Linked DNA regions of Homo sapiens: all the other regions are linked to region 6. Evidence: promoter capture Hi-C in 16 types of primary human blood cells and fetal thymus (Javierre and others, 2016). All regions are on one chromosome and are shown on one strand. The core of a region is centred on a gene start or on the middle of the fragment in contact, and the rest is flanking DNA. Distances in the headings are between cores, read along the strand shown. Region 1 overlaps MRPS22 (mitochondrial ribosomal protein S22). Region 2 overlaps PIK3CB (phosphatidylinositol-4,5-bisphosphate 3-kinase catalytic subunit beta). Region 3 has its middle 35 kb from the start of MRPS22. Region 4 overlaps CEP70 (centrosomal protein 70). Region 5 overlaps ESYT3 (extended synaptotagmin 3). Region 6 holds the start of FOXL2 (forkhead box L2). Region 7 overlaps ESYT3 (extended synaptotagmin 3).

What was found. Contacts are between HindIII fragments. The CHiCAGO score rates a contact against its expected background, and 5 or more counts as called.
Region 1: a contact is called between a fragment that was not itself captured here and the fragment with the promoter of FOXL2 in region 6, in 2 of 17 cell types (megakaryocytes and erythroblasts). The highest score is 5.5, in megakaryocytes.
Region 2: a contact is called between a fragment that was not itself captured here and the fragment with the promoter of FOXL2 in region 6, in 1 of 17 cell types (neutrophils). The highest score is 5.4, in neutrophils.
Region 3: a fragment that was not itself captured here is called in contact with the fragment with the promoter of FOXL2 in region 6 in 4 of 17 cell types (megakaryocytes, naive CD4 T cells, endothelial precursors and 1 more); the score reaches 6.3 in megakaryocytes.
Region 4: a fragment that was not itself captured here is called in contact with the fragment with the promoter of FOXL2 in region 6 in 1 of 17 cell types (megakaryocytes); the score reaches 5.6 in megakaryocytes.
Region 5: a contact is called between a fragment that was not itself captured here and the fragment with the promoter of FOXL2 in region 6, in 1 of 17 cell types (megakaryocytes). The highest score is 5.5, in megakaryocytes.
Region 7: a contact is called between a fragment that was not itself captured here and the fragment with the promoter of FOXL2 in region 6, in 3 of 17 cell types (erythroblasts, megakaryocytes and M0 macrophages). The highest score is 9.2, in erythroblasts.

What each region holds. Positions count from the first base shown.
Region 1 is chr3:139,347,368-139,350,067 of GRCh38, forward strand. It overlaps MRPS22 (mitochondrial ribosomal protein S22), which reads left to right. Exons shown (of 8, transcript NM_020191.4): 3 at 793-957. Among named protein-coding and RNA genes, the nearest start is that of MRPS22, 4.7 kb to the left of the region's middle. The HindIII fragment of the contact is 228 bases long and covers 1,323-1,550 here.
Region 2 is chr3:138,659,473-138,663,792 of GRCh38, forward strand. The region is part of intron 21 of PIK3CB (phosphatidylinositol-4,5-bisphosphate 3-kinase catalytic subunit beta); the gene reads right to left. Among named protein-coding and RNA genes, the nearest start is that of FAIM, 53 kb to the left of the region's middle. The HindIII fragment of the contact is 8,823 bases long and covers 1-4,320 here.
Region 3 is chr3:139,306,557-139,310,630 of GRCh38, forward strand. No RefSeq gene overlaps it. Among named protein-coding and RNA genes, the nearest start is that of MRPS22, 35 kb to the right of the region's middle. The HindIII fragment of the contact is 5,231 bases long and covers 1-3,968 here.
Region 4 is chr3:138,502,894-138,507,183 of GRCh38, forward strand. CEP70 (centrosomal protein 70) reads right to left here. Exons shown (of 18, transcript NM_024491.4): 13 at 2,402-2,572. Among named protein-coding and RNA genes, the nearest start is that of ESYT3, 70 kb to the left of the region's middle. The HindIII fragment of the contact is 1,527 bases long and covers 2,263-3,789 here.
Region 5 is chr3:138,452,517-138,456,769 of GRCh38, forward strand. ESYT3 (extended synaptotagmin 3) reads left to right here. Exons shown (of 23, transcript NM_031913.5): 3 at 2,678-2,812. Among named protein-coding and RNA genes, the nearest start is that of ESYT3, 20 kb to the left of the region's middle. The HindIII fragment of the contact is 3,063 bases long and covers 879-3,941 here.
Region 6 is chr3:138,945,674-138,949,458 of GRCh38, forward strand. It overlaps FOXL2 (forkhead box L2), which reads right to left and starts at 1,464. Exons shown (of 1, transcript NM_023067.4): 1 at 1-1,464. The coding sequence starts at 1,049. It overlaps FOXL2NB (FOXL2 neighbor), which reads left to right and starts at 1,544. Exons shown (of 3, transcript NM_001040061.3): 1 at 1,544-1,791. The coding sequence starts at 1,692. RefSeq lists a silencer at 1,480-1,708. The HindIII fragment of the contact is 4,318 bases long and covers 1-3,377 here.
Region 7 is chr3:138,468,014-138,472,394 of GRCh38, forward strand. It overlaps ESYT3 (extended synaptotagmin 3), which reads left to right. Exons shown (of 23, transcript NM_031913.5): 12 at 92-181; 13 at 642-704; 14 at 806-868; 15 at 1,423-1,491; 16 at 2,047-2,133; 17 at 2,864-3,013; 18 at 4,350-4,381. Among named protein-coding and RNA genes, the nearest start is that of ESYT3, 36 kb to the left of the region's middle. The HindIII fragment of the contact is 1,873 bases long and covers 2,196-4,068 here.

The sequences.
Region 1 (2,700 bases), core at 187-2,686, 400 kb after region 6:
GGGGCTGAAGCTTTGGGGAGATTGTGAGATCCTGCATGGAAACAGCATGTTTTCCAGGCACCAGTGTCCTCAGTACCATGGGTACTGAGTGCTGCGTGGAAAACACTTTGATGTATGAATACGTAAAGCATTAATACTCGTCTTTCTGATTCAAAAGTAATTTATAGTCAGCAAAATATATATATCTCTCTCCAGTAGTAGATTACATGAAGAGTAAAAGTCCATCTTTTCACCTCCTAGAGGTAACTGCTTTTAACAGTATGGCATGAAGCAATGTAGTCAATGGTTAAGAGAATGGGCTTTGAAGTTGGGTTGTCTAGGTTCAAATACCAGTGTTGCAATTTTCTAGCAATTTACTTAACATCTGTATGCCTCTGTTTTTTCTTCTGTAAAATGGAGATGATAACAATTGCACCTAACTCATAAGGTAATTGAGGCCATTAAATCAGCCAAATACATTTAGACTGTTTGAACACTATCTGGCACATAGTAAGCACCCCAAAACTGCATTCTTTTATTCTGTTTCAAGCAGCTTTTGTAGCCTGGCTTTGTCTCAGAGCATGCCTTTGTGGTTTTGATAACGGTTGAGTCTATAGCTGGTGGTCTCAGCCACATCGCAGAGGCAAAGGCCAGGGCTCACAAGTCCAGGTTTGGCTTTTTACTCACTGATTTGTGGCTACACCTTCTTTTCTATGCAGGTTTTTGCATTTTTTATTAGTATGTGCTTTTGTCAGATGATCCTTATATTATGTAACCTTGTGGCTTTCCTTAATAAATATTTTCTTTCATTAGGCTACAAGACAGGCAGTTGAGGCAGCTAAAGTACGATTAAAAATGCCACCAGTTCTGGAAGAGCGAGTACCAATAAATGATGTGTTAGCTGAAGATAAGATTTTGGAAGGAACAGAAACAACCAAATATGTGTTTACTGATATATCATATAGCATACCACACCGGGTGAGTATATGTCTAATCGCAAAATGATCTTTCTTTGAAATACTATGTGGAGAAGGGCTTGAGAGATGATGTGACCTGGCTGTCTCTGATGCGTCCAAACCAGATTTCCTCTGACTGGGTGAGACCCTTCTGGAAGATATACTATATGAGGGATGAGAAATGCAGACCAGCCCCACATCATGGTGTTACCATTTCTCAGCAGATAATAGGCACAGTATTTTCCAGATTCCAGATGTGCTGAGGCAGAACAAGGAGTACACAGATACAGACAGAAACCCATCCCAAACCACAAATGGACAAAAATCTACAAGGCAATGGAAGCAGGAGACTCTTTTCGCCTAAGTTAGATGGATTTCTTTAGCTGAAGCTTTTTGAGAAGATAGAATGTTTCTGTCTTATAAATTCCTTGATGATGCCAAGAAACTCAGGCATCATAAAGGATTTTCGCTTTCCAGAATTTTCAGTAAGAATGACAGATGTTTCTCAGATAATTTTCAGGCATCACCACTTCTTCTGTTGTGATTGTTATTCTCTGGCTCCTCTTTACTTGATTGCAAATTTAAAAGAACACTCTGGCATTTTAGAAATATGTAAGCTTTGTATTTGAGCCTTTGCAAGTAAAGAATAAAAAGAGAATAGTTTACAATTCAGCCCACAGAATACGTTAGAACACTATAGAATGCTGAGTTTAGGAGAAGGTTCACTCCATATTAATCTTTTATTATACATGATTATGGTTAGAAAACGATTTGAGCTATGTTCAACACCAGCCATCTGTATATTTGACATAATGAACATGAGTCACAGAGTTTCAATTTTAATTACAGTTTTTGTTTTGTGATGCTTTAATATATGTTTGCAGTGCTGTGCATGTTGGTTGGGAAGCATTTTGTAACTTGAAAAGGAGAAAGGAACTTGGAATTCAGGTTTCTCAAATTACCAAAATCCTTCTGAGGAAAAATTGTATTATGTTGGCATGTGCTTTTTTTTTTTCGATTGGCAGTGTTGATGGAAGTTTCATCTATGTTATCTTCAGAACACATTTAGAGACTCCTACACCTCTGAAAACTTGAGAGTCAGTACTGTTTGGTTAATTTATACATTAATCAGGTGTGTATCAATTATCAGCAATGTGCAAAGCTCCATGTATGCCACTCCCGGTATTGCAAAAAATTATAATCCACATTTCCTGCCCTTTTCCAGTTATATAACAATATCTGAGGGATGCCAAAAATCTTGTGTGGGGTAAATTTCCAGTTGAATGGTATAAAAAGTAGGTAGAATTTAGAGGAGGAAGTGATCCCATGGCCTGGGAGTTGGCAGTTGGAAGATCGAAGTGACCAGAGACAGTTGGACCAGACAGCCTCTCAGACATGTTTATGTCTAATGCCAATATAAGAAATCATAAAAGTGTAGAAGTAAGACTCCTCATTCTTGGGTTTGTTCTTTTTATCCCAAGGACTTTAAACATAGATCATAAAGTAGTAAAATCTGTTTAGATGAGACTTTGGGATAGAGAAATGAAAGTTTGGAAAGGTCATAGCACTTCTTTCCTCTAAAATGGATATAGATGAATCTCAGCTTTTTTCGTATCGAACTCACGTTAGCACCATAGTTGGTACTTACTGAATACTTTCATTTTAGATTTCTGATTGTCAGATGCACAGCAGTGATTAGTGAAGGAAATATCAAACCTTGCCAAGTCTTTGAGGTTTAAAATTATCATTGATCTCATATGCATGA
Region 2 (4,320 bases), core at 1,254-3,753, 290 kb before region 6:
CGCCACTGCACTCCAGCCTGGGCGACAGAGCAAGTCTCCATCTCAGAAAAAAAAAAAAAAGTTTGGTTATCGAATTTTAGGTTAGAAATCATTTTCCCTCAAAATTATGAAGGCTAACGTGCACTGTCTTATAATTGCCAATGTAGCTATTGAGGAGCCAAGTCATTTTGACTTCTAAACTCTGGTATGTGGCCTGCTGTGTCTCTGCGAAAGTTTTAAGACTTTCTCTTTACGTCTGATGCACTGAAATTTCATAGTGCAGGTACTTAGTAAGGGTGTTTTTCTTCCATTCTCAGAAAATTTTTGTGCTATTTTGACTGGATATTCATGAACATTGGCTCTGGGAAATGTCTTAGTATATTATTTGCTTAGTAAGTGCCCTTCTTTCCTCTTCTTTTTTTTTTTTTTTTTTTTTTTTTTTGAGACGGAGTCTTGCTCTGTCGCCCAGGCTAGAGTGCAGTGGCGTGATTTCAGCTTACTGCAAGCTCCACCTCCCAGGTTCACGCCATTCTCCTTCTTTCTGGAATATCCATTAGGCTGAGAGTATACCTCCCTGGACTGAGTCTCTATTGTTTCTGGATCTTCTCTCTATTTATCATATTTTTTGGAGATATTAAGGCATGGTGGATTAAAAAAAAAGAATATGAGCCAAACTGCCAGGGTTAAAATCCTGATATGTCTACTCTCTGTTGCCTTAATATCCTCACTTGTAAAATGGGGCTATTGCCGCCACTCTATAAGGTTGTCATCAGGCCTGAAGGCATTAGATTATATATAAAGCACTTACAACTATGCCTGCCACAAAATATTTACACTATTTCTATTTTAACTTTTTGTTTGTTCCTATTTCTAATTTTCAAGACCTCTATGTGCTGATTGTAAAAAACAGAATCCTATTATTACTTTAAAGATACAATATATTTTTTTGCTTTGATTTTTAAAATCACCCTCTGTTTACTGCAGTTACCCTGTTTTCCCAGAGTTCTTTTCTTTTCTTCCCTATTTTGCTTATTTGGTTTCTATCTTTCATGGTAGAGGTTTCCCTTAAATGTCTGCTAATCCAGTAGAGAGTAGAATGGTGGCTGCAGGTGCTGGGGAGATACTGGTCAAATAATACAAAATTTCACTTAGGAGGAATAAGTTCAACAGATCTGTCTTACAACATGGCAACTATAGTTAACAACAATATATTGTATTCCTGAAAACTGCTGAAAGACTAGGTTTTAAATGTTATCATCACAAAAAAAGATAAGTATGTGAGGTAACACACAGGTCAGCTCAATTTATCAAGTCCACAATGAAGACATACTTCAAAACAATATGTCGTACATGATAAACATATTCAATTTTTGTCATTTTTTAAAAGTATATTAATCCTTAGCTGACCATTCATATTTAACAATGAATCACTAAAAAGCTGAATGAAAATTCTATGTACATGGTAGGCTTGCTTGTTGATTGGTGGACTTCCTTGTATAGAAACTAGGGAGAAATCTCAACTGTCAGATCTGCAGGACTTTTCAATGGAACCAATCAGATTTCTAGAATAGAATCACCTAGTCTTTTGATGAGGGTCAACTATACATCTGGCTGCCACTGTTCTTAGAATAAAGCAAGTGGAAGTGGCTGCAGATTGTACCATTTACTACGCCGACTTTCACTCCATCTCCATTTTTAATATGGGACCCTTTCTTGTAGTCTCTGTAGAAATAAGTGTGCTTGAGTCAGAACCAGTTTCTTCAGAGAATAAATCTATCTCCTTCTTGGCATAGGGAAGGGGACTTGAGTGCCTAACTGTTCCATATATAAGCTGCCAACTAGTTCTGTTTCAGCCTCTTTCTGTATCCCTCCTTGAACAGTATACATGGTGCCTCTGATTCCAGAGCTTTTATGGGACTTGCGTACCCCTTTACAAGTACTGACTTTCTATTTTCTCAGTTCTGCTAAGTCACTGCCACTTCTCTATCTCACTTTCTATCACCCCGAAGTCTGGTAATAGGTTTCACCCACTGTGGCCTATTTTCCTATCATCTTTGACTTCTTGAGTTTATATATTTCTTAATTCCTTATTATTGTTTTAGAGGTGTAAAAGAAGAAAATGGAGATAAATCTAAGTGTTTAATGTGATTGGACGGAAGTCCAAGGGACTCCTTTTAAGTATGGACACGAGATTCCTCAATCGTACATGGTGCATTCATGTATTATAGTGCATTACAAATTCATTCCACATCAACTCTCAAAGCCCAAGCCAGAACTAATCCAGATTTCCAAGGAGATACAAAACTGTGGGTCCCTCATAGAACCAAAGTTCACACAGTGACCCAGAGAGATTTTCATTCTAGTATGCCTCTAATGTGGGAATTCCTAGGGGGGCTAAACTGAAAAATTATCTAAGATATCTCATCTGTTTTTGCTTAACATAAAAAGTGTTTACAAATATGTCACTCTGAAAAATGAAATTTTCATTTGAAAACTTAAGTACTTTATAAACAACATGGTCTAGATTCCCTAGGTACCCCAGAATGCTATTACTCACACGACTGTTCTCCCTTCTCCCATATATAATTAGGTATGATGTTCTAAAAGAGAAAATAACTCAAGTGGGGTTCATCCCAACTTTTTTTTTTTAGCATTGGTAATCTTTTTTTTTTTTTTTATTTTAAGTTTTAGGGTACATGTGCACAATGTGCCGGTTAGTTACATATGTATACATGTGCCATGCTGGTGTGCTGTACCCATTAACTCGTCCTTTAGCATTAGGTATATCTCCTAATGCTATCCCTCCCCGCTCCCCCCACCCCGCAACAGTCCCCAGAGTGTGATGTTCCCCTTCCTGTGTCCATGTGTTCTCATTGTTCAATTCCCATCTATGAGTGAGAACATGCGGTGTTTGGTTTTTTGTCCTTGTGATAGTTTACTGAGAATGATGATTTCCAATTTCATCCATGTCCCTACAAAGGACATGAACTCATCCTTTTTTATGGCTGCATAGTATTCCATGGTATATATGTGCCACATTTTCTTAATCCAGTCTATCATTGTTGGACATTTGGGTTGGTTCCAAGTCTTTGCTATTGTGAATAGTGCCGCAATAAACATACGTGTGCATGTGTCTTTATAGCAGCATGATTTATAGTCCTTTGGGTATATACCCAGTAATGGGATGGCTGGGTCAAATGGTATTTCTAGTTCTAGATCCCTGAGGAATCGCCACACTGACTTCCACAATGGTTGAACTAGTTTACAGTCCCACCAACAATGTAAAAGTGTTCCTATTTCTCCACATCCTCTCCAGCACCTGTTGTTTCCTGACTTTTTAATGATTGCCATTCTAACTGGTGTGAGATGGTATCCCACTGTGGTTTTGATTTGCATTTCTCTGATGGCCAGTGATGATGAGCATTTTTTCATGTGTCTGTTGGCTGCATAAATGTCTTCTTTTGGATTAAAGACTTAAACGTTAGACCTAAAACCATAAAAACCCTAGAAGAAAACTTAGGCATTACCATTCAGGACATAGGCATGGGCAAGGACTTCATGTCTAAAACACTAAAAGCAATGGCAACAAAAGCCAAAATTGACAAATGGGATCTAATTAAACTAAAGAGCTTCTGCACAGCAAAAGAAACTACCATCAGAGTGAACAGGCAACCTACAAAATGGGAGAAAATTTTCGCAACCTACTCATCTGACAAATGGCTAATGTCCAGAATCTACAATGAACTCAAACAAATTTACAAGAAAAAAACAAACAACCCCATCAAAAAGTGGGCAAAGGATATGAATAGCATTGGTAATCTTTAAATTTAATACATCCAGTACATTATCCGCTCCTTCTGTTAGGTACAAATGTATCCCAAATACTATTTCTTATATTGAAGAACAGGCCACTTTAACTACAAAAATTTTTTCAATAATTTTTTTTTGAGATGGAGTTTCACTCTTGTTGCCCAGGCTGGAGCACAGTGAGGCGATCTCGGCTCACTGCAACCTCCGCCTCCCAGGTTCAAGTGATTCTCCTGCCTCAGTCTCCCAAGTAGCTGGGATTACAGGCGCCTGCCACCATGCCTGGCTAATTTTTATATTTTTAGTAGAGACGGGGTTTCGCCATGTTGACCAGGCTGGTCTCAAACTCCTGACCTCAGGTAATCCGGCCGGCTCGGGATCCCAAAGTGCTGGGATTACAGGCGTGAGCCACCACACACAGCCTTTAGTAATTTTTTAAACAAATAAATGCTTACCATCAAGCAAGCAAACAAATGAATACATGTAGTAGACTATATATGAAACGAGAGGTAGTGAGAAATTGAAGTAAAGACA
Region 3 (4,074 bases), core at 103-2,602, 360 kb after region 6:
GGCTTTTCTAGGTGACAAATCTCTCTAAGAACTGATCATTGTATAGGGTCTCACAACTGGCCAAGCCCCTGCATCTACCCAGGACAAATGAAATCAAGACTGTGGCCTTAGAAATCCTGTTCCAGGCCAGGGCCTAGGTACTGGCAGGGTATGAGGCGGTGGCCCACAGACAGCAGTGAGGAGTTATCCCAGAGCACATCTTTCTCTTGGGCTGTAGCAGCCTCTGAAAGTACTGGAAACCAGCAGGGGAGGGGGCCAGGGGCGAGATGGGGGTCAGTAGCATGGCCAATGCATTTGGGCAGCATGGGAAAATCCTGAAACAGCTTCCTACTCCAGGGGAAAGGTGTTTTTAATGCAAATTACAGCAGCATTGTTACCTGTAAGTTGGTGCTGACTTGCTAGGGCAGCAAGGCTGGCATTTGACTCCTTTAGATGTTCCCCATGGCCGAGTCCCACTCTATGAACTGCCCTTCTCTGAACATAGCTTCTCCCTGGTGGCCTTGGGTTTTTGCCTGAGCCCCTTCTCATACCCGGAGTGCCCATCCTGCTATTTTTATCTAGTCCCTCACCTCCTCCAGGAAGCCCTCCAAGAACCCTCAGGCTCCTCAGGACTCTACAGCCCCCTGTAACAGCCCTGGAATATGGTGGTGCCATGGCCTGTTTACCTGTGTGCCTCCCCAGCTGAATGTGGGCTTCTGGAAGGTGCAGGCAGTATCTTCCAGGGCCCAGCCCAGAGGAGGCCTTCTTTAAAACCTTGCTTTTGGGTGATAACCAGGATGGATGTTCCTTTATCTCTGTCATGAGATCTGTGAACACAGGAGGGACTCATGTGCCCTCCACTGCCCTCTGCAGAGCCTTCCACACTGGAGCATTTGCTAAGCACTGGCTGAATGAATTATGTGTCTCTGTGATCTTCAGTCCTAGGCCATGAATATTTCTGGGTCTGCTCATTGAGAACTTGCATGCAGATAGCACTCCATAAGTGGTTGTTGGATCGAGTTGAATCAGATTCCAGGCTAAGGACAGTGGGATACTGGGGTGGATGAGCTTGGTGTGTCTGGGGGTATGTGTGTGTCTTTCAGTACCTCTGTGTGGGGGTCGTATCTAGATGTGTGTGTTTGTGTGCATCTGTGACTGAGTGTCCATGTGCATCTCATCTTGGATGAGTCCATATGTGTCTTTTGTGATTGTGCATGACTGTGTGTGTTGCGTGTCTGTGTGGGGATGCTCCCTCTGAGCTAAGAGCAGGGGATAGAGACAGCCACCACCCAGTCAGGAGCCAGCCAGCTGTGTCTCCATGGAGTCTCTTGCCTGCCGGGTCCCAGGACAGCCAGCCTAGCCTAGCAAGACTCAGGCCTTTTTTGCAAGTTCTAAGCAGTGGCACAGACACAGCCCACAGTGCTGCCTGCCCACCAGCCCCCGTGCCTGGGTGGTGTGCATGTAGATGGGGCCAGCATCTCCCTGGCCTCCTTGCTGCTCAGTAAGGAATGGATTATAATTCCCAGGCAGGCTGCATCTGCAACCAACTTGAGGGAAATAATTGTTGAGCGAGTTGAAAGAAAAAAATTGTAGCAAGGAACTTCAAGCCAGGCAGTCATCCGTGTCATTAAATTAGGTTAATCTAAATCCTCAGAGTCTAGTGTAGCAGCCTCTAAAGCAAACCCTACATGGCTCTTTGGAGTTCCCATTGTAAAGTTCCCAATAGGGGTGTTCTTCAAGGGACACAGTAGGCAGTAGCCTTGCAGCCTGAGGACACACAGAGCTTGTGACAGATACCAGTTCCTCCTCAGGGACCTGGCTCTGCAGGAAAAGGCATGAGATGAGAGGCAGGCCCCATCCTTGTGCTGCCCCTTCCTCTGTGTGAGTCCCCCAACCACTCCAGGCCTCATTTGCTCTTGCCCAGCTCACAGGGCCTATTAACAAATGCCAAGTGGGCCAAAAGGAAAGGAAGAGGGTCCCTTGGATGGGAGAAGCTGGGGTGGAGGTGAAGCCTGAATTACTTCAAACTTGCCTTAGTGTTGCTCCTCCAAGCTGGGTCTTTTTAACACCAACCAATGGCTGAATTGAAGAAAAAATGAGAGATGAGTCTGTGCAAAAAGTCCCACTCTTGTAAGGACTGCTGTAAATCATTAATTTATGACTGCATCCAGACATTTACTGACTCATTAATTCAATCATTTTCCCCCTCCTTTATTCATTCTTTTATAGATCCCTCAGTCCCTCATTCTCTCTTTGGTTTAGTCATCCAAAGGTCTCCCTCCCTCCCTCCCTCCCTCCCTTCCTTCCTTCCTTCTTTCCTTTCCATGCTTCGAGGGAATTGCCTGGTATGTGTTCGTCCCCGTGGCTGTGTAGAATGAAAAGCACTTCAAGTACCCTGCCCCGAGGACCAGTGCCCATGCTGTGGCCCCCCAGCTTGCTCCTCTCCCTCTCTCCTTGTGTCTTGCTCCCCACTGTCCCCTTACTGGAACACCATTTCCTCTCTGCTCCTCTCCCATAGGGAGCACATGAGCTGATGGTGGGCTGGTGAGGAGGCCTTTGTCAGGGCACTTGGGAGGAAAGGTGCTGAAACTGACCTGATAAATGAACCAGCAGGGATGTGTGGCCTGGCTCCCCCTCCCCCTTTGATCAAAAGCCTCTGAACCCCTGATGACATCCCACAGCATATTCCTCTATTAATCAGAAAAGCCTTGACAGATGTAAGCAATTTGTCTTTGGAGAGGACTGGAGCAGGGGTGGGGGAGGTGAAGCGAGGAAGCCCAGCTCAGCCCATAAGGGTGGGGAAGATACTGAGGGTAAGTCTTGAAATGGGGCTGAATACATGCATACTAAGAAGGCAGGGAGCAAGGTAGAGCCAGTCAGATCAGAAAGGGAAGTGCTTTCATTTCCAAGCATATTTCCTCCTTGATTGAGTAGCCCCTCCCAATACCACCACCAAACCACGAAGCAGGAATGAGGCTGAGATCCAGGGGTTAATCCCACTCAGACTCCTTCAGGGCTCAGATGCTTAAAGCAACAGGGGCCTGGTGGGTATGGTTCAGGCGTGGCTCTCATAACGCCACATGGCTGCTTCGGCTCTTGCCTGCTGATGACAGTGATGCTCAGCTTAAAAACAACATCAAACACCTAATGAACCTGCCATTCAGCAGATTGGGAGCTGGGCACGGGAGATGCAGGAGAGAAGAAACAATGTCAGTTCTCCAAAACCCCTAGTCTAGACTATCTGGCAGATAAATTAACCAGGAAATGGGTTTTGATGTGAGGATGGTCATGGGAGGGAGCATACAATATACAGTGTGGAGTGGCCAGCCCAACAAGAGGGGTCCTTTCCCAGAGGAGAAGACACAGCTGCATCTTGAAGAATGAGTAGATGTGCTCACATGAGAAAGGCCCCTCTTTTTTTGTCCATTTGGAGAACTGCTACTCATCTGTCAAGGTTCAGCTTGGGTCTCCTGTTAGCCTCTCTTCCTCACTAATTCTAGAGGTCAGGGACTGTGACTCATCCCTTTGTCTCCAGTGCCCAGCCCGGGGCCTAACACAGAGTAGCCACAAATGTTTCCTAAAGCGAGTGAAATGGACTTGCAGGCAGTGGGAGTAGCATGGGCAAAGGCATGGAGGCATGATCAGCATGGGGCTTTGCAGAGAACTACAGTCTGTGTGTGTCCGTGGGGCGGTCTAACTGATGTTTTGTATCAATAGGAAAACTGAAAACTGAATTAAATTTCTTCATTTTCATGGAGATATCTGGCCCCATACAAAGGCAGCCCACGGATCTGACTGCCACTGAGGAGTATTATACAATCTTATTTTCATTATGCTTTTTTTTAAAAGAGTGCTCTATGAATCTGATTAGATGCTTCAAACATAAATTTTAAAACTTACTCTTGCAAGTTTTAGAGACTAAAGCCACGGCCAATGTTTTGATCATATGCCTCCTTCCCTTTCCAATAAACACCTAACACACTTTGCCAAGCTTTCTGTGGTCAGGATTTACAGATCTGTGACTCAGCCCAGTGAGCCAGGGAACATGAAAAGATGTCGCTGGGGAGAAATATGCAAGGAAGGATGGGAGAGGTC
Region 4 (4,290 bases), core at 1,776-4,275, 440 kb before region 6:
AGTGTACTGGGTTGGGGAAAGCTACAACATCTGTAGTTCACCTTTCTTGGAAAGGCAGGAGGGAAAAGACACAAGGCTGGAGGCAGCTGGCTCCATGTCTTTCCCAGCCTTCTTTTCTTCCAATTTTTAAAACTAGTAAAATACCCATAAAATTCACCATCTTAACAATTTTTAAATGTAAGTTCAGTGTTAATATGTTCATAATGTTGTGCAACCAACATCACCATCCATCTCCATAATTCTTTTCATCTTGTAACACTGAAACTTTATACCCATTAAACAATAACTTCCCATTTCCCTCCTCCCTCTAGCCATCACCACTCTACTTTGTCTCTATGATTTTCACTAAGTATCTCATACAAGTGGAATCATATAAGTGGAATCTTCTTGTGACTGACTTATTTCACTTAGCATAATGTCCTCATAATGTTCACCCATGTTGCAAGGGTCAGAATTTCTTTCCTTTTAATGGCTGAATAATATTGCAATATATGTATATACCACATTTTGCTTATCCATTCATCCCTCAAACCTATCTTACTCTTTAAAGCCAAATTTAACCTGAGGGAAAAAACTAATCTGGGAAGATGGTTGTCCCAAACTTAGAGGTTGCTACATATCAAATAACCTTTGATATGAGGCCTCAGAGAATCTCATGTAGTTTCTTAATTTGGACCCTGAAACTGTAGTATTAATATCTGAAGCACTGCTCAAAATCCATGAGTTACTCCAATGGCAGAAGTAACTAATTCTTAATAATTTCTTCTTGGGTGTCCTCAGAATATTCTAATTATAAAGCGAATTCCTTGCCTCCTCCTCCTCCTCAGAAAACCATACAATAGCAAGAACTCACCACCATGGCAAAGCCCTTCTTGGGGGCTACAATCAGAGTGTTCTCTTTCTCCTCCAGACTCTAGAGCACAAGTTATCTGCATCATTCACTCAGAACTTCAACCGGTAATCTATTTTTATGTCACTCATTTCCTTTAACGATATAAATGATTACATTTTGTTTCATATTTTTTAGTATATTTTGTCTAATTAGTCTGAATCTTGTGTTCATCCCATAATGGCTTAGCATGATAAACGATCAATAACTATCCATTAGTGTGATTCTTCCCTTTGTCTTCTTCCTCTTCTAGTCTTTTCTTCTAGGAAGGCTAGGGCTTTTTCTAGTCCATCCCTTCTGAGATGAAGAAAGGTGGAGTCAGCACTGTTTCCTCCTACTGGGAGAACCCTCTGACAGGCAGTGATTGAGGAAATACCATGATTTACACTATTACTAATTATTTTACACTCTTCTGAGATACAGACTGGAGGAACTCCGGTCTATAAAGTAAGTATATTAATCTAGCACTGTCACTCAATCAAAATGTTTATGTATTGTATAGCTCTGTCTGAGCCCTATATAAAAAGGGAAGTCGAAATTTAAAAAAAATTAACATCACCACCCCCAATTTTGTTGTCTTGGAATATAATATTCTGCTTCATTCCTTTTAACAAATATTAATTGAGCACTCATTCATCAGGAGGATCTTGGGGACATATCAGAACAAATAAAAACACTGTCTTCATGGAGCTTATACATTCTTAACAGATATCTTCTGCATCATTTGTACTTCATGTAATAAGACTTATGTTGCAAACACTGTTATTGAATCACATTTTCATTAACAGGCATATGCTATGTATTATATTAGTTACTAATAAATCTAAAGTGTAAAGGGCAAAGAAGTTAAATACTACTGATTTCAACTATTTACCTTTCAGCAAACTAGTTAACAAAAACTGAAAAAACCTGAAGCTATGCAATAAATACACAATAACTCTATAAATAAAATGTGGTCTTCCATGAAGAGATAGGATAGGGAAGGGTAGCGTTGGCTGCTAGCTTACTATCTGTTCTAGAGAATAAGCAGAAATGGAGATAAGCTCAGTTCTGAGAGACAGAAAATAAAGTGTGAAGAGAGAGAAAATATCCCCAATTATAATAAAATGAAGGATAAGACATTATATCTGAAGAGGGATAAGGGCCAGGAAAATCGCAGCATGGAGATATGAAAAGGAGGCAGATGAAGGTAGAACAGGGAAGGGCCTAGAAGTACAAAGTGGATCCACTATAGATTTTCAATAAGGAAACTAACCCCAAAATTTCTTGTTTGGTAGAATCTTAGAGGAGGTAAAGCTTACAGTAATGACAACATCAAATAGACAGTACCTAAAATAGATATGTAAGTAGGAAGATTTCGGTTTTAGATAATAAGCTTTTTTAGCTTTAGAGTTAACACACAAACAAAAAAATTAAACCCTATTTAATTTTTAGCCCTGAATTAAGTCCTATTAATAAAGCACATAGAGTCCAATAGATGTTCAAAGCATATAATCATAGTCAACCCCTTACCTTTAAGGATGTCAGTTGATCTGCCCACATTTCTATTACAGGAACAAGATGCTCAAATCCACAATCTTGAACAAGATCTTTATTAAAATTTTGGACTCCCCCTTTGGTCTGTTTATAAATTATTACTGGAGCTCTTGGATTGTGGATAATTGAATTGATGCTACACAGCACCTTTAAAAAAACATAGTGTATATAGTCAAAATATTTATCCTATGCCTACAAAGTTATATATTTTAAAGGAGTGCTTTATGTCTATATATATTATATACACATATTTCATTAAATATACAAAGAAAATTATCATAAGGAATTGGCTCATGCAATTATGAAGACTGACAAGTCCCAAGATCTGCAGTGAGTAAGCGAAGACCCAGAAAAGGTAATGGGTATTTGCAGTCCAAATGCAGGCAGACTGAGACCCCTGCAAGTGCTAATGTTTCAGTTTGAGTCTGAAGGCAAGAAAAAAACCAGTGTCCCATCTTGAAAGCAGTCAGGGAGGAGGAGCTCCCTCTTATTCAGCCTTTTGTTCTACTCAGGGCTTTGAATCATTGGATGAGGCCCACCCCATTAGGAAAGGCAGTCTGATTTACTAAAGTCTACTGATTCGGATGTCAATCTCATCCAGAAGCACCTTCCCAGACACATCCAGAATAATGTTTAACCAAATATCGGGCATCCTATGCCGCAGTAAAGTTGAAACAAAATTAACTATTACAAACACTACCTAGGTTCAAAAATTGTTAGTATTTTGCCATATTTGCTCACTATCTATATTTTTAGGTGAACCATTTGAAGAAACTCTTCACCCTCAAATAATAAAGCATGCATCTTTTAAAAGTAGGCATATTCTCCTACAAACTCACAAGAACATTATCAGACTATTTAAGGAAATTAACAGCAATCCCCAGGCTGAGTGTGGTGGCTCATGCCTGTAATCCCAGCACTTTGGGAGGTTGAGGCAGGAGGATCACTTGAGCCCAGGAATTCAAGGCTGCAGTGAGCTATGATAATGCACTTCAGCCTGGGCAACAGAGCAAGACCCTGTCTCCAAAAATAATATCATTGATGCCTGGATTGAATTTTAGGTATCTTAATATATTAAGATAGTATACTATTTGACTATAACCCTCTCCCCATAAGTGATGGGTTCTACCTTACATATCATCCGAGGAAAAAAAGGGAGACCTCAAAAAGCATGTTTAAAGAGAGAAGAATAAAGCCATTTCCTATTACCACCATCAAGTTCAGCCTATTTAATAAAAAGTTTCACAATATAAAGATAGCATTTTGCTCTTGAATCTTTGTCCCTGGTCATACTTCAAGATATAACTAATAGGCCTCCTGGTAATATGACTTAAGATGTTTATTACTTCAGATGTTTATTTAGAAGCTTTTTAAGTCCAAATTAGTATAATTCAATATTTCACTTCAAATTGATGTATGTATATTTGTTTTATATATTTATTTGACAGAGTCTCACTCTGCAGCCTAAGATGGAGTGCAGTGGTGTGAACGGAGCTCACTGCAGCGTTGAATTCCTGGGCTCAAGTGATCTTCCCATGTCAACCTCTCAAGTGCTAGGACTACAGGCACAAGCCACCATGCCCAGCTAATTAAATTTTTTTTTTTCTAGAGATGTGGTCTCACTATATTGCCCAGGCTGGTCTCAAACTCCTGCCCTCTAGCAATCCTCCTGCCTCGGTCACCCAAAGTGTTAAGATTACAGGCATGAGCCACCATACCCGGCTTGAATTCCCCTTTTAAAGGACAAAGCCTCTCAAATTGAGTCTCAGAAACAAAATGAAATCCAGTTATATACTGGTACAAGAAAGTCTAAAACAAAACAGTTTTCAGAAAGGTGCTTGGTTCCCATTTACAATAGCAATAAA
Region 5 (4,253 bases), core at 1,160-3,659, 490 kb before region 6:
AGTCCTTGCCCTGGCTCGATTCACTGACATCACTACTGTAATTGCTGTTAGGTCACCCCTGGGAACTCCCCTTGGGCTCTGCTGCCAGATGTCCCAAGGAGGCTCCTGCTGGATGATGACCCTTGGCCGAGCCCTCCCCAGCAGGAATCCCGACTTCATGGAGGATGAACTGGAGGCCTGCCCCTCCCTGATCTGCCCAGACCTGTCCCTAACTGTGAGGGCTCCACGGCAGTCCCCAGCTCAAATCTCCTGACTGAGGAATGTTTCTAATACAAACCTTGCCTCTGGGAGGAGGCTTAGCCCGTAGCAGGAATGACTTAGGTTAGGTATAAGAAAGGACTTCCTGATGGATGTTGATCCAAGATTGCTGTTTTCACATTACCAGACGTGTCATTGCTGAGTGCATCAAAAAGCATTCCCTAGCCGGGCATGGTAGCACACACCAGGGTCACAACTCCTTGAGAGGCTGAGGCAGGAGGATCGTTTCAGCCTAGGAGTTCAAGGCCAGCTTGAGCAACATAGCAAGACTCCATCTCAAAAACAACAGTAACAGCAAAAGAACAGAGAACATTCTCAGCCTCTGGGTAAATTTGGAAGAAGCAGGTTGCTGCTTTAAGAGGAGTGACTGGGTTTCTGGGGATTCATGCAGGACCCAGCGCCTCTGGGCAAACCTTGTAGAGTTCCTCCTGCACTGTGTTAGCTGGTTCATGCACCTCTGCCTGCGTTACATCTTTCTTTCAGTAATACACAGAGGCCTATACAAGGCGTTGGAGATATAAGACTGTTGGGATATGAGGCTCCCACCTTCATCTTGGATGGGGAGACAGAGACAGTTGTGTAGGTAAACCACATACTAGGGCACCGAGTGTGTCCTAACAAGCTTTAAACTCAGGAGGCACTTGGCCAGTGACAAACCAGCAAGACAGGAAGATGAGACCAGACCCAAGAAAGTAGAACCTGGGGTTTGGAGAGGCCTTTGAGAGAGATGGGAACAATGAGCCCTAAAATCTCACAGCCTTTAGGCTCCTCCAATGATGGCTTTGGAAGGGGCACATGGAGGAAGGAAATGCATATTTAAACTGAAGCCCAAGCCCACAGGAAAGATACAGTCTTGTATCTCCAACGCCTTGTGTAGGCCTCTGTGTATTACTGAAAGAAAGATGTAACGCAGGCAGAGGTGCATGAACCAGCTAACACAGTGCAGGAGGAACTCTACAAGGTTTGCCCAGAGGCGCTGGGTCCTGCATGAATCCCCAGAAACCCAGTCACTCCTCTTAAAGCAGCAACCTGCTTCTTCCAAATTTACCCAGAGGCTGAGAATGTTCTCTGTTCTTTTGCTGTTACTGTTGTTTTTGAGATGGAGTCTTGCTTTGTTGCCCAAGCTGGCCTTGAACTCCTAGGCTGAAACGATCCTCCTGCCTCAGCCTCCCAAGGAGTTGTGACCCCGCTGTGTGCTACCATGCCTGGCTAGGGAATGCTTTTTGATGCACTCAGCAATGACACGTCTGGTAATGTGAAAATAGCAATCTTGGATCAACATCCATCAGCTCGGGTAACAGGGGGACCCTATCGCTACAAAAACATTAAAATGCGTGGTGGTGCACGCATGTAGTCCCAGCCACCCAGGAGGCTGTGGTGGGAAATCACCTAAGCCTGGGAGGTTGAGGCTGCAGTGAGCTGTAATCATGCCACTGCACTCCAGCCTGGGCGACAGAGTGAGACCTTGTCTTAAAAAAGAAGGCCAGGTGCTGTGGCTCACACCTGTAATCCCAGCACTTTGAGAGGCCAAGGCGGACAGATCACTTGAGGCCAGGAGTTCAAGACCAGTCTGGGCAACATGGTGAAACCCTGTCTCTAACTAAAAATAAAAAAAAAATTAAAAATTAAAAAAATTCACTGGGTGTGGTGGCAGGTACCTGTAATCTCAGCTACTTGGGAGGCTGAGGCAGGACAATCACTTGAACCAGGAGGTGGAGGTTGCAGTGAGCCGAGGTCGTGCCATTGCACTCCAGCCTGGGCAACAAGAGCGAAACTCCGTTTGAGAAAAAAGAAAAAGAAGATGGAGAAGCCTTGCCCCAAACAGAAAGTACCTGCTGGCTGGCCCGCCCTCCATTCCCCTCTGATTTCCACCATCCTCCCCTGTCTCTGCCATCTTCCTTCTCCCCAGGTCCTGCACTTCATTCCCAAATCAGCACAGTGAGTCATTCTGCTGCAGAAATCGGGCAAAGGCTGCCTTTTCTGATTGCTAGAAAATGAAATCCACAGGAAACAATTTAACTTTCTCTTCTGTAATTTTTTTCTTAAACTTCTGGCATCTGCTACTTTTTGTTTAAACCACAGTGTAGAATGAGATTATGTTTTAGCACAGAACTAAAGGGCTTTCTAATAATAAATGTAGTGAATGAGTATTTCTTGGTGCTCTGCGGAATAGCACCAAATCTTGGGGTCCTGCTGCCTGCATGACAGTGGGAACCACGGCTGTAGTTATCAGATGTTTGACGGACAGACAGATGAACAGGTGAGCAGATGGGTGGGCAGGCAAGCAGGTGAGTGCTGCAGCATAGGAACCCCCACCCCAAGACCAGGCTGCAGAGAATCAGGACCTTGTCCCATGCAGCTGTGGGTCTGCAGTGGGGGTACAGACCTGACTACCAAGAGCCTCTTCCCGTCTTCACAGATCATCTCTCAGACCTGGCCCTACCTAAGCATGATCATGGAAAGCAAGTTCCGGGAGAAACTTGAGCCCAAGATCCGAGAGAAGAGCATCCACCTGAGGACCTTTACCTTTACCAAGCTCTACTTTGGACAGAAGGTGGGTGTGTCTCGGGAGGGTCAGCCTGGACTGGCTGTGCAGTCTTCTCTCTGTTCCCTCTCCTCCCACCTTTCTCCCACCCAGGTCAGTCATATGACTGCAGAGATCCCACTGGACCTTACAGGGGGACACCCTCCCGCCACCACCTGCATTTCCCAGCCTGTCAGCCTCAGTAGACACCCTTCCCCCACATCCCTGTACCATCATCTCCCCAGGTTCCAAGGAAGCCTGGCTCAGAGGGAACAGAAAGGAGAGGTGGGAGATATTTCCACTTTTCTTAAGGAAAACTTTGAAGACACGCCATGGTGGTAGCCAGACAGATACAAAGATGGAAATCATAGTTGCTAACCTCAGAGCCGGTGAACACACGCTCACAGTTTGGATAGTCAGTGCCGCCTAGCGCTTTATATTCTCCACTAATTGGCTGTTATGGCACTCAGTGTTACAAGTCCATGCTAGTTCTGTGAAGATCAGCAGGTGTCCCAGGATGAAATGGTCTGTGGCCAATGAAGTTTGTGTCAGCACACCTAATGTCATGGTCCCTGTTCTAGACTGGGCTTCCTGTTTCAGCCTTGGTGCCCTACGCCTCCTGCCTCGAAGTGCCCCTAGTGACTTGAATCTTTTGATCATCCAAAATGTATCCCTCAGCCAGAGACCACTGTGACCCAGTAAATGAGAGGCACTGGCATCCGGTCTTCCCAGCAACGAGCAGGTGTCCAAGTATAGGCCAGCCTGCTGAGAGAGCTGTCTGCCAGCCCTTCCTGGCTAGCCCCTGGGCAGGGGTGGATTAGGCAGGCCTGAGCCCTGGAGATTGGGATTTCTGCCATTCAAACTGGCTTGTGCCAGCATCTGTTGGTTCATGCATTCATTTCTTGTTTCATTCACCTGTGACTTATTGAGCACGTGCTGTGTGCTGGGCATCATAGAGTTGGGTGTGGCTGCACCCCTTCCTGTGGGAGGAACACATCAACTGGTGGATGACAACGTGGCAGTATCTGCGTGCATGATGGCAGAGGAATGCAAGTTCAGAAATGGAGGGGTGGAGGGGCTGTGGGAGTCAGGGAAGACTTCCAGGAAAAGGTGATGGCTCAGTTGGCTTTTGAAGAATTCAGCAGGCTAGGAGCCAAGAAGCTTGCAGGGTGCTGTGTTCACAGCAGAGCCTGCTCAGTCAGGCTGCTCCTCTGGTGGTTGTCTCTATGCCAGAGGTCCCCAACTCTCGGTACCAGGCTACACACCAGGAGGTCAGCAGCCGGGAGCTGCCGGAGCTCCGCCTCCTGTCAGATCAGCAGCGGCATTAAATTCTTATAGGAGCACAAACCCTGTGTGAACTGCGCATGTGAGGGATCTAGGTTGCATGTTCCTTATGAGAAGCTAATGCCTGATGATCTGAGGTGGAAAAGTTTCATCCCAAAACCATTTCCCACCCCACCCCCGGTCTGTG
Region 6 (3,785 bases), core at 214-2,713:
TGCCGGGCACAAGCGAACTGCAGGCCCGGCGCACTGGTGGGCGCGGGCGCCGGGGGCGCGGCGGTGGCTGGGCTGGCAGGGCTGAGCTGGCCCGGCGGCGGCGCGGCGGCCCCGTGGTGCGGTGGGGCAGGCGGCGGTGCGGCGGCCGCGTGCAGATGGTGTGCGTGCGGATGCGGGTGGGGGTGCGGCGGAGGCGGGGGTGCGGCCGGCGGGCCTCCCAGGCCATTGTACGAGTTCACTACGCCGGGGGGCAGCGCCATGCTCTGCACGCGTGTGTACGGCCCGTACGAGGCGGCCGGGCCCGCCAGCCCCTTGACCACAGCGGCCGCGCCAGGGCTACCGGGGCCCGCGGCTGCAGCCGCAGCTGCTGCAGCCGCTGCGGCTGCCGCCATCTGGCAGGAGGCATAGGGCATGGGTGAGGGAGGCTGCGGTAGCGGCCACGAGTTGTTGAGGAAGCCAGACTGCAGGTACTTGGGGGGCGCCAGGTAGCCGTAGCCGTCGGCCCCGGCGCCCGCCACGCCGCACCCGCCTGCGGCGCCTCCGGCCCCGAAGAGCCCCTTGCCGGGCTGGAAGTGCGCGGGCGGCGGCCGGAAGGGCCTCTTCATGCGGCGGCGGCGCCGGTAGTTGCCCTTCTCGAACATGTCTTCGCAGGCCGGGTCCAGCGTCCAGTAGTTGCCCTTGCGCTCGCCGCCGCCCTCGCGCGGCACCTTGATGAAGCACTCGTTGAGGCTGAGGTTGTGGCGGATGCTATTTTGCCAGCCCTTCTTATTCTTCTCGTAGAACGGGAACTTCGCGATGATGTACTGGTAGATGCCGGACAGCGTGAGCCTCTTCTCCGCGCTCTCGCGGATCGCCATGGCGATGAGCGCCACGTACGAGTACGGGGGCTTCTGCGCCGGGTCCGGCTTCTCCGGGGCTGTCCCGCCGCCACCCCCACCGCCCTTGCCTGGGCTCGGCGGCGGCCCTTCTGGCTCCTTGACTGTGCGACCGGTCTCTGGGGCCAGCAGGGCCCCCGCCGCGTCCTCGGGCTCGGGGTAGCTGGCCATCATGACAAAGCCGGCGCGCCGCGGCCGGGCCGCCTCTGCTCTCCGCTCCAGGCGCTGGCGCGGCAAAGAGTTGGGGCGCACGAGTCCGCTTACGGCCAAGTCTCAAACTTCTGGAGACTGCGGATGCCGCCCGCGCTTGCTTGCTGGAGGCCTGTCGCTGCTCTCCCCTCTCCTTCCCCTTCCCCTAGGGAGCGGCCGGCGGGAGTGGAGCTCAGCCTCTGGCCATGGGGAGTCCGCCCAACAGAGAGGGGCTCCGGCCTCGCCGCCCCTCCCCGCTCAGGCCAGTCCCCGCCTTGGTGGGTTTTCTTTTCTGCGCTCTTCCCCTCCCCCCGCCCCCCGGTTTCCCGAAGCACGACCCGCGTCTCTGGCGGAGCTGCCTCCTGGAGTCCCTAGTGCGCCAGGAGCCTCGCTCTGTTCTGATTCGTATGGGCTCCACCGAGTTCCGCTTGCGTCAGGCGCCTTCGCCCCTATAGCGGGGCGGCCAGCCGCGCACGGGCGAGTTCATCTCCAAGTCACTTTTTGTAAACGCCCCGCACAGCCTGGACCGGCCTGCCCCCGCCCAGCGAGCCTCAGGGGCCCAGCCGACAGCCAGGCTCACGCGCCCTTGAAATCTGCCGGTACTCGCTCTGCGGGCTGGGCTGGGAGATGACGAGGACCCCGGTGGGGTCTGCCCGCACCCGGCCAAAGCCCAGGAAGCTCGGGCCCCAGCGAGGAAAGGCGCTCCAAGCCTCCTCGCGGCTTTCAGGTGAAAGAAAACGACTCCTTTGCTCTGCCGTTTGCTGCCGTCTTGAGGCTGAACTTCTAGCTCGGGGCTGGGGAGGGGCGAGACGGCGAGGGGGCTGGACGGGGTAGGGTGGGGAGAGCTGCTCTGAGGCTTTGGGAAAGTCAGCCCAGAAACGGGTGTGACTGTACGAAGAAGCCTCGGCCTGGCCTGTCCCTCGCGCTCTCAGAGTGACTGGGCTGGAATGGGGCAGGGGAGAGGATCTCTGGAAATAGTCGTCAGGGGCGCCGCCTGAATCACCTCTGCCTCTCCCTGCGTTACCAGTGGATCTAGGAACCAGGAATCCGTGTACTAATCCTACGGGGTTGGAGTGAAGGTTGGATGTGTGCTTTAACAGCACCAAGTAGATGCCCCTCAGCTATTGCACTAACACAGGCGGGGCTGTTGCCCGGGACTTTGCGGGACTGTGTATGTGTGTGCACAGGGGTCACATATGGAAGTCATGGAGAGGAGCTGTCCTTGAGATGGGTGAGATACCAGGTGCATGTGTGCTGCTCAGAAACACAGGTATGCACATGTACAAGGTGTGAGATTTGTATTTACGAGGTAAAACACACTTATACTGATAGTTATGTAATATGTTCATCAAGTATTAGAGTAAATGTAGCTGGTGGATATAGCATCTTCTCTTTTTCTCCTTTCTTACTTCTTTCCTTCCCCCCTTTCTTCCTTTCTTTCACAATTCTTCGATGCCTCTTTCCCTCCCAGTGTATGTATTTTGCCACAGACTGGGAAGACAAACATCAGGCTGAGGGAGGGACTTGTTCAAATCTCTCTCCTGATGAGACATTTGTTCTGATCTTTCTCCAAAGAATCAGGAGTTAGTTGTCACCTACCTTAAGCAGAATTCTGATGGGAATCCAATTATTTCAGCATGTACAGAGATTGTTTCAGGGAAAATCAGGTGTGCCTTTTAACAGTGTGCTCCTTAACAGTGCCTTTTAACTTGGCCTAAACAAAAAGTCTGCAGTCATAAAGTATGAGAGAGATGGCCAGTGTTTTGAATCCTCAAGCCCCAAACTCCTTGGTGCTGAGGAGGGGGGCAAGGCCACCTTATGGAGGAAGGTGGACTGAATGGATGTCATATAGCTGTGCATTAGTGATTGGCATGTCTGGAGTGGCTGACTCAATGCCTGTCACTGCCTCTTCCTCCCAGGCTGTTTAGACTCTGAGGGTTCTCCTGAAGCCCAAGGAGCCTTCAGCGGCCTGTGGTTCCAGCATCCACAGGCCATCTACAAGTGTTGTCTGCTGCTCACTCAGGCCTCTGATCTGCATTCTGAGATGAAAGGGAGGGAGGACAAGGGTGGTAGGGCTCTTTGGAATTCAGCATCTTGAAGATGACACCAGAGAGGTCAGCAGGGCAGCCCTTGCCTGGTCACAAGGATGAGAGGGAGCAAGGCTATCCCCAAAGTAGCTTGGTTTTTTTTATGGGCGGTCTCCCACTGCACCCAACAGACATGGGGGAAGCAGCACTTCCGCAGAATCCCTGCTGCTGCTTTCTGAGCAGGAGTGCAGATGTTTTTCTTCTTCCTTACCCCCATCCTTGCCCAAGCTTTGGGTGGGAGTGGTGAGTCCGGTTTGGGGCTGCTGCAGATTGGCCTCAGTGCCTATCCTCCCCCAGCCAGGGCCTGGGCAGGGGGAAAAACAGCTGGGTCTGGCCCCATCCTGGTGGGGGCTCCTCTCTCCTTTTCTCTCCTTTTTTTTTTTCTTGACCACCCAGGCTGGCTCTCTGCGTCTCTCTGTCTTTCTTTCTTCTTCTCACAGGCATTTCCGCTGCTCAGCCCTGCAGCAGCCAGGTGTAACAGCATTGTTGTGTGTGTCATCACTTCCCTGAATTCCACACTCGGCTCCCTTTTCAGCCTTTAAAGAGCCTGTGTGTGTATGCATGTGCGTGTGTGTGTGTGTGTGTGTGTGTGTAGGGGTTGGGGGCAAATGAAGGAGTTCCTCTGAAGGATTTT
Region 7 (4,381 bases), core at 1,882-4,381, 480 kb before region 6:
AGGATGCCAGGTCTCAGGACTGGGCTGCCCAGAGAGCATCAGTAGCATCTCCCTGGCCCTTTTCCCTGAGCTTTCTGCCCCTACCCCACAGTGGTTTGTCCTGAATGACACAACCAGCGGGCGGCTGCACCTGCGGCTGGAGTGGCTTTCATTGCTTACTGACCAAGAAGTTCTGACTGAGGTGAGTGTGGGGTGTCAAGGGCTCCCTTGCAGAAAGGTGGAGGAGCACACGTGCCAGGTGTGTGCAGGTGGAGGAAGGGTGGGAGATGATGCCCCCTTCTTGCTCACCTCCTGAAGAACATGTCACTCAGCCCGTCTCCACACAGGGCAGCTCCTGATAGCTCTCAGCAAATGTCCTCTGAGCATCTCCATCATCTTTAGATGATGGGGTCCTTAGAACTCTGTGTCAATGCCTGTCCTCCCAGTTCATAGGGAAATCCACTCAGTGTCTAACTTGAATCTGTCATGCACCAGTTATAGTCTTAACCTCAACAAAATGCTAGGTTGTGAGAGGTCCTCCGGCAGCTAGTCTGGAGTGTGAAGGCTAGCTGGCTTTCTTCTGCCATGAGTAGGCTTCTCCAAAATCAGTCTTTGTGTCCTGCTGCTGGGAGTACCCAGTGAGGGTCTGTGTCTGTTTGCAGGACCATGGTGGCCTTTCCACTGCCATTCTCGTGGTCTTCTTGGAGAGTGCCTGCAACTTGCCGGTGAGTGGCGACATGTCCAGAGTGTCACACAAACGCAACAAAGTGCCCATCACTTTCAAATTGTCCTGTGTTGCTTTAACCCCGTTATTCCTGTGCTGCAGAGAAACCCTTTTGACTACCTGAATGGTGAATATCGAGCCAAAAAACTCTCCAGGTTTGCCAGAGTGAGTGAGTATGTGGCTAAAAACTCCAGGGAGGGCAAATCACAGCTTCTCTCCCCAGAGTAACCACAACCCCATGTCTTCTGGGCCACAGTCTGTGCACACACAGCCTGGGGATAACAAGAGGTGCTGATTGTGGAGTCTACTGTGTGCCAGGCACTAGGCTTGGCAACTCATCCCCCACATTTGTTATCCCTGAGTCTCATGATGACTGTGTCATTCATTTTTATTACCATTTTCTGGGTCACACAGCTAAGAGGAGGAGCCAGATTCCACACTGTTTTCATAGCCCCAGGGAACGAGAGCCTGTGCCTGGCCAGGCCCAGCTCTGGCTTCTGGTCTTTTAACTTGGAACTGCTTTCTGGGGTTGGTCCTGTCCTGGGGCTCGCACAGTAATGACAGCCCAGGGGGACTGGGGCATTAGAGTAGCTTTCTCTCAAAGAGAAGTAACTGGGTGGCCCCAGTTCCCCCAGATGCTCCTGGGGGTTGGGGGTAGGACTGTCTCAAGCTGATATTGACTATGCCACCTTCACTGTTATGGATTTGATTCCTCACAGAACAAGGTCAGCAAAGACCCTTCTTCCTATGTCAAACTATCTGTAGGCAAGAAGACACATACAAGTAAGGTAAGACAGCTTGGTGTGTAGCCCTGGGGTAAGGAAACAAGGACCCAGCCCTTCTCAGGGAGAGAGGCAAAAGGGAGGGGAATTAACTTATGGTGAATGCCTAGTAGGCACTTGATGTTATTTAGTCTTCAGAATAACCTCACAAAATAGTTTTATAATTCAAGAATCTGAGGATCAGAGATAAATGACTTGACCAAGGACACAGAACTAGGGTTCAAGCTTGGGCATGGTTCTGAAGCCCATGTCCTTTCCACCAATCATGAATTTTCTCAGTCCAGCAGCAGAAATCCTGTTGGCCTCTCCTCTCCTGAAGTGAGCTCTAAGGCCAATATGATTTTCAGCTCCCCCGTAAAAATTCCTGGCAAACCACTCCCTGCCTTTGAGTGTTGTCCCGTCCTAGTGCCTCCCACTAGCTGTAGCGTGTTTGGGTCTGATCCCAGGGCATATAGGTAAGGTTCCCAATGGTACCTGGTGGCCAGAGTGATAGCAGAGGGTGCCGGTATCCAGCTCTGCCCAACCTAACCCTTCAATGATCTCTCCCTCTTCTGTTCCCAGACCTGTCCCCACAACAAGGACCCTGTGTGGAGCCAGGTGTTCTCCTTCTTTGTGCACAATGTGGCCACTGAGCGGCTCCATCTGAAGGTTTGATGGAAGAAGGGCTCTTGAAACAGAGTTAAGAGGTTTTTAAGCCAGGCGGGCTGGGAAGCTTGAAGTGCACCTTGAGCAGGTTCTCCTGGCAGCGTTTAAAGTCAGCCCCTTGTATGTAAGAGAGGACACTGAGGCCCCACAAGGCCTCATCTCCTTAAGGCTAGTGCCTGAGGTCACTGTATAGGGGGATGTGGGAGGATAAATCCTCAAGTCCCTTGACTTTCCCTGCAAAAGGGTCTTTATATTTGCTACACAGTACCCAGAGCAGCCTATCTACACAGGACATTAATAATGGTGTACTTTAAAAAATATATGTTTCATTTAATCTTCACAAAAGATCTGTAGAGTAAGCAAAGAGAGGCAAAAACAATGTCTTGTCCAAGATCTCATGACCAACAAGTGGTGGAGCTGGGATCTTTTAGGGCCCTGAGCCCTGCCTGGAGAGCAGCACAGCTCATCAGTCCCCAAAGCCCCCTGGCTCTGGGCATTTGACAGACTAGCTCATACAGATCATAATTGCCTCTACTCTGAGTCACTATCTTCCCTGACAGAAGACAAGGACCAGGTCTGGCCTGATCCCATTCTAGTTTTCAGAATAGGACCAGATGCCCATAGAAGCACAGTACAGACTGAAGTAAACCCAAACTTGGCTGGGGCTCAGATACTAGTAGTGGAGTGGTGGGGCTTGGTTATCCTCTTGTTTTGTGACTGGACCACTGCCCAGGTGCTTGATGATGACCAGGAGTGTGCTCTGGGAATGCTGGAGGTCCCCCTGTGCCAGATCCTCCCCTATGCTGACCTCACTCTTGAGCAGCGCTTTCAGCTGGACCACTCAGGCCTGGACAGCCTCATCTCCATGAGGCTGGTGCTTCGGGTAAATCTCTCCGGTCCCCTGGGGGAGGGGAGGAATAGAGCTCTGGCAATGGAGCAAGGTGTACTGCCCCAGCACTAAGCACCTGCTGTGTGCCTGGAAGAAGCCAGGAGATGGATTCATGTTTTTCATCAATTTTGAAATACTGAATGGGAGCAAGTCAATATTCAAAGAGATACAGGCTCTTCAAATATTGCCTCTCCTCCATTCTTCTTAAATTCCTCTCTCTAGAATTTTCTATAATGTACCTTCTCATCTATCCTCCATGTCTCTTGACCTCAACTAAATATTTCCCTTCTCTGTATTCATGGTGGTACATTCTAATTCTCTCAAGAGCTATCTTCCAGGCCACTAATTCTTTGGCTATGCCTAGTTTGCTGTTTAACCTGTTCATAGTTTTTTCAATGGTGGTTTTTCATTTCTATTTTTATCTTTTCCAAATCTATTTGGTATTTTCTCATAGAATTTTATTATCTTCTCATGTTTATATTCCATCTTTGGTCATTTGAAAATATGTTACAATGTATTAATATGTATGTTCTATTATTTGAAGATCTTGGGAGTTAAATTTTGATGTTTGTTTTGTCTGTTGATGCTTTTTGATGGTGACTCATTTCTGTTTTATAACTTGGATTGCAAACATATGTTCAGTGTTCCTTTATGACCTGGATCGAGGTTGTTCTCTTCCAAGGAGCTTCTGCTTTTGCTGCAGCTCAGTACCTCAGGTGCATTACAAACTTGAGTCCATTTTTGTGTATATTTCTTAACTTTGGGTTTCAAGATCCCATAGGTAGCTCATATTTATACTCAAAATTCATATGAGGACAGGCCTATGAGGTGCCATGTTATTAGGAAAGACTTTATCCCCTCAACCAGAGTACAGGCTGTGGCAAACACATGTTCTTGTCATCAGTCTTTGCTGGTAGGCCGAATAATTTTTATCCTAAACTACTTTTTTAACTAAAGAGATCCCACCTTCATGGGTCTTCCCTTCAGCTCCTAGCCTCACAGCCTCTTCTAACTCCCTGAATTCCAAGGTTGATATACAACCCTAGGAAAGCTTAACTTATTTTTCAGATTTTTTCTTTTTTTAACAGAATTATCCTTATTTTCTTGTGAATTTGGCTATGCATTTCAAAGGATGTTTGCTTCATTTTATTTGGCATTTCTAACAAGTTTTTCAGAATATTTGGAACACCATATGTATTACTGGAAATGGAAGTTCCCTAGGAAGGGTCTTTATAATTCACAACTGAGGGGAAAGGGGGAACGGGAAACAATGGCTGAGGTTGTGGAAGTGGTGACTCAGCTCATAAGCCACCCTCTTATCTGCTTGCAGTTCCTGCAAGTGGAGGAACGAGAGCTGGGGAG